Linked DNA regions of Homo sapiens: region 2 is linked to region 1. The links are contacts of gene promoters, found by promoter capture Hi-C in human tissues and cell types (Jung and others, 2019). All regions are on one chromosome and are shown on one strand. Each heading gives the region's core, a stretch centred on a gene start or on the middle of the fragment in contact. The rest is flanking DNA. Distances are from core to core; before and after follow the strand shown. Region 1 holds the start of HCN4 (hyperpolarization activated cyclic nucleotide gated potassium channel 4). Region 2 overlaps REC114 (REC114 meiotic recombination protein).

Region 1 (2,581 bases), core at 41-2,540:
CAAATTCCTACTCTGGATGGAGGAGGCGAAAGTGGTCACATTGGGCTAAGAATGAGAGTAAAAAAATCATTTGAAGAAAAACTTGATGTTATTCCTCAGAGAGATGGCAGAGCCAGGGGACCTTTTTGCCTCCCTCCTGTGAGACTTTGCTGTGTGTCCGCTCCAGCATTAACCTCGGCTCCAGCCTTCTCTGGACAACTCCCCTCCCCTTAATGCCCAATCTGTCCCCCTATCCATTTCTGAGCTAATCTGGGGTATCAGGCTGTCCATGGTGTTGGAGGGGGTAGGGCTATACCTTAGGCTGAGCTAGTGAAATCTGTCCATAAGCCCGGACACTGTACACTGGGAGAGACTGGGAGAGAGGACACACAGTTGGATCCTTGGCGGGGGTTGGGGGGAAGGGGGCTGGGCTGCAGACTGGAAGGGAGTGGGGGCTGTGCAGCTGCTTGGGGGTGCAGGTAGGGGACTGGGTGGAACAGGAACTCACCCAGCGTGGGTCCACATAGTAGGTGTCATAATGTGGATGGGAACACAGGGAGAAGGGGCTCCAAAGCCAGTTCCAGAGTGCTGGGGCGTCCGAGGAACCGGCCCAACCGCTCCCCGCTGCAGCCGGCTTGTCCCTTTCTCGGAACTACCGAGGGAGAGGCGCGTGCGGAGGTCGGCGTTCGGATCTCGCATCCGTCACTGTTGCCGGCGCATTTCCTCGAAGTCTTACCTCGAAGGGCTGGGTCCCACCCGCGCGCCCTGTGCGTGTCTCCCTGTTTCCCCACGCCCTCCTTGCCTGGCTGCTGCGAGGCTTTGCAGGGGAAAGACTGGCGCGGGGTTCGCACCCTGCCCATGTCACAGGAAAACCGTGGGAGCCTCCCCGACGCGGCGCATTTCCGGAAGCCCCCTCTCCAGGAGGGTTGCGGGAAGGCCGGGACTCTGCATCCAGACGAACCCGGTCGCCTCCCAAGAGGAAAGTCGGAGACCCAGCTGAGGGGCAAAAATGCCAGGGAAAGGCGAGCCCAGAGCTTGGTGATGGAGAAATTGGGAAGCCACCCCCCACCCTTCAATCTTAGGATGGGGAATTCGCAACTGAAGCCGGAGCTTCAGACTTGGGGCGCACTCCCAGCTTAGCCCAGGAAAGAGATTTAAGGGCGCAGCAGTGTGGATACCTCTCACCCCGGCCCCGAAGGTCTAGCGAGGGTCTAACCTGGGCCCCTTGCCAGGCCCGCCCCCCGCCCCTTTCCAGCCCCCGGCCCGTGCGCCGCTGCCCCTTTAAGAAGCCCAGGTAGGCAGGCCCGGCTGCTGGAGCCGCTCCTATGGCAACCCGCGAGCTGCGGCGGCTTCATGAATATTCCGGGGCGCGGGAGCCCGAGCGCTGCCGGAGGGCGCTTCGGGGGAGGCGGCCGCTGATGTAAGCCCGGCGGGTCGCTGGGCTCCGCTCGGTTGCGGCGGGAGCCCCGGGACGGGCCGGACGGGCCGGGGCAGAGGAGGCGAGGCGAGCTCGCGGGTGGCCAGCCACAAAGCCCGGGCGGCGAGACAGACGGACAGCCAGCCCTCCCGCGGGACGCACGCCCGGGACCCGCGCGGGCCGTGCGCTCTGCACTCCGGAGCGGTTCCCTGAGCGCCGCGGCCGCAGAGCCTCTCCGGCCGGCGCCCATTGTTCCCCGCGGGGGCGGGGCGCCTGGAGCCGGGCGGCGCGCCGCGCCCCTGAACGCCAGAGGGAGGGAGGGAGGCAAGAAGGGAGCGCGGGGTCCCCGCGCCCAGCCGGGCCCGGGAGGAGGTGTAGCGCGGCGAGCCCGGGGACTCGGAGCGGGACTAGGATCCTCCCCGCGGCGCGCAGCCTGCCCAAGCATGGGCGCCTGAGGCTGCCCCCACGCCGGCGGCAAAGGACGCGTCCCCACGGGCGGACTGACCGGCGGGCGGACCTGGAGCCCGTCCGCGGCGCCGCGCTCCTGCCCCCGGCCCGGTCCGACCCCGGCCCCTGGCGCCATGGACAAGCTGCCGCCGTCCATGCGCAAGCGGCTCTACAGCCTCCCGCAGCAGGTGGGGGCCAAGGCGTGGATCATGGACGAGGAAGAGGACGCCGAGGAGGAGGGGGCCGGGGGCCGCCAAGACCCCAGCCGCAGGAGCATCCGGCTGCGGCCACTGCCCTCGCCCTCCCCCTCGGCGGCCGCGGGTGGCACGGAGTCCCGGAGCTCGGCCCTCGGGGCAGCGGACAGCGAAGGGCCGGCCCGCGGCGCGGGCAAGTCCAGCACGAACGGCGACTGCAGGCGCTTCCGCGGGAGCCTGGCCTCGCTGGGCAGCCGGGGCGGCGGCAGCGGCGGCACGGGGAGCGGCAGCAGTCACGGACACCTGCATGACTCCGCGGAGGAGCGGCGGCTCATCGCCGAGGGCGACGCGTCCCCCGGCGAGGACAGGACGCCCCCAGGCCTGGCGGCCGAGCCCGAGCGCCCCGGCGCCTCGGCGCAGCCCGCAGCCTCGCCGCCGCCGCCCCAGCAGCCACCGCAGCCGGCCTCCGCCTCCTGCGAGCAGCCCTCGGTGGACACCGCTATCAAAGTGGAGGGAGGCGCGGCTGCCGGCGACCAGATCCTCC
Region 2 (2,581 bases), core at 37-2,536, 160 kb before region 1:
TTAGTGCTTCCTTCAGGAGCTCTTGTAAGGCAGGCCTGGTGGTGACAAAATCTCTCAGCATTTGCTTGTCTGTAAAGTATTTAATTTCTCCTTCACTTATGAAGCTTAGTTTGGCTGGATATGAAATTCTGGGTTGAAAATTCTTTTCTTTAAGAATGTTGAATATTGGCCCCCACTCTCTTCTGGCTTGTAGGGTTTCTGCCGAGAGATCCGCTGTTAGTCTGATGGGCTTCCCTTTGAGGGTAACCCGACCTTTCTCTCTGGCTGCCCTTAACATTTTTTCCTTTATTTCAACTTTGGTGAATCTGACAATTATGTGCCTTGGAGTTGCTCTTCTCGAGGAGTATCTTTGTGGCATTCTCTGTATTTCCTGAATCTGAACGTTGGCCTGCCTTGCTAGTGCTGGAGAGGATGTGGAGAAATAGGAACACTTTTACACTGTTGGTGGGACTGTAAACTAGTTCAACCATTGTGGAAGTCAGTGTGGCGATTCCTCAGGGATCTAGAACTGGAAATACCATTTGACCCAGCCATCCCATTACTGGGTATATACCCAAAGGACTATAAATCATGCTGCTATAAAGACACATGCACACGTATGTTTACTGTGGCACTATTCACAATAGCAAAGACTTGGAACCAACCCAAATGTCCAACAATGATAGATTGGATTAAGAAAATGTGGCACATATACACCATGGAATACTATGCAGCCATAAAAAATGATGAGTTCATGTCCTTTGTAGGGACATGGATGAAATTGGAAATCATCATTCTCAGTAAACTATCGCAAGAACAAAAAACCAAACACCGCATATTCTCACTCATAGGTGGGAACTGAACAATAAGATCACATGGACACAGGAAGGGGAATATCACACTCTGGGGACTGTTGTGGGGTGGGGCGAGGGGGGAGGGATAGCATCGGGAGATATACCTAATGCTAGATGACGAGTTAGTGGGTGCAGCTCACCAGCATGGCACATGTATACATATGTAACTAACCTGCACAATGTGCACATGTACCCTAAAACTTAAAGTATTAAAAAAAAAAAAAAAAGAGTGGAGAACTCTAGGAAATGCTAATTTACCATCAGACAAAAGAACAAGAGCCAATACCAAGAATTAATGTCCAGGACAGAGTAATGTGGAAGCTAAGAGGGGTGAGAGTTTCCAGCAGAGAAACTTGTCAATGGTGTCAGGTGATGCACAGGGATGGAGTAGAAATAAGGGCTGTCAAATCTGCATGGAGTCTAGCAGCAGGAGGTGCTGTGCCCTGCAATGGCTGGCTGTTGCTTCTACCCTGTCTTCTTTTTGTAGCCCCTACACCTCACTGCAAACTTCATGAGATCAAGAACTGGGGTACATTCATCTTTGTGCCCAGCATGTCTGTTGAATGAAAGAGGGCCAATTTCTGGCACATGGTTGACACCCCCATTTCCTCCTAACACACTTTGACCCATCCCTTAATTTGCCCAGTTCTGGCACAGCCTGAGGGGCAGTGGCCAGAATGCCACCAAGATGGGGCGCCACACTACACTTCATATAAAGAGAATCTCAAGCTTTGCTTTTCATGCATTATAAATTATGAAGTGCGTTTCTAAATTGTGGTCATCCATGCACTCCGTGGCCCCTGCTATCATACATAATGAAGACTTGCCATAGAGATAAAAAGGAAGCCATCAACGAAAGGGAGAAAAGTACCTAAGAAAATGGATGCACAGATAAGATGTACACAATCTGAAGTCCAAAGATGGTGGGAAAAACTACCTGTGCCCTTAACCCTACTGAGTCTGTTTCCCTTGCTGTTGACTCTGCCATTGAGCTAGTTCCATTAGTACCTCAGACACCCCTCAGTTCTGACTTCACCTACCAGTTTGGGCAAGGAAGCCAGGAGAATATCATGGGGTGTCACTGGCATTTAGCTAGGTAAATTAGCTTTAAAATCTTCCCATTATGATTTTGTAAATGCTTTGAAGAAAACAGCATTTTATTTTTATGAAAATGACAATTCTAAATGTTCACACCTGCTGTTAAAACCCTGATTCAGAGGAAAACAGCATAGGAGAATCAGGTTACAAAAGTAACTGGATGACTGATCATTTCACAGTGCACCTCGTCCCCAGGCCCAGAACACCAAAAGCGCTTCTTGATGAATGTGAGAAGGTGTTTTGGTGCCAGGTGATTTATTTAAAAATTAGACCCTGGCTTAAGCTTCAGGGTTGTGTTTCTGACTCACTATCCTGGAGCTCAGTTTGTGAGGATCAAATTTCACTGAAAACAGAAAAAAAAAAATCCATGATAAGAGAATTGCTACAAATATGAAGACAACGATGTGAAGAGGGAAAACAAAGCAAAAGATTGGGATTTCTAAAATTACATTTTCTTTTTTCTGGAGACAGAGTTTTGCTCTGTTGCCAAGGATGGAGTGCAGTGGTACGATGATAACTCACTGCAGCCTTGATCTCCTGGGCTCAAGCAGTCCTCCCACCTCAGCCTCCTGAATAGCTGGGACCATAGGCATGCACCACCATGCCCAGCTAATTTTAAATTTTTTTGTAGAGATGGGGTCTCGCTATGT

Evidence for each region. The method cuts DNA at HindIII sites, captures the fragments that hold promoters and counts their contacts. A contact is called where the count stands out against the background at its distance.
Region 2: a fragment that was not itself captured here is called in contact with the fragment with the promoter of HCN4 in region 1 in 1 of the 25 tissues and cell types used here (heart left ventricle).

Annotation. Positions count from the first base shown.
Region 1 is chr15:73,367,667-73,370,247 of GRCh38, reverse strand. HCN4 (hyperpolarization activated cyclic nucleotide gated potassium channel 4) reads left to right here and starts at 1,290. Exons shown (of 8, transcript NM_005477.3): 1 at 1,290-2,581. The coding sequence starts at 1,978. The HindIII fragment of the contact is 7,967 bases long and covers 1-2,581 here.
Region 2 is chr15:73,530,462-73,533,042 of GRCh38, reverse strand. All of the region lies in intron 2 of REC114 (REC114 meiotic recombination protein), which reads right to left. Among named protein-coding and RNA genes, the nearest start is that of NPTN-IT1, 38 kb to the left of the region's middle. The HindIII fragment of the contact is 4,245 bases long and covers 1-2,581 here.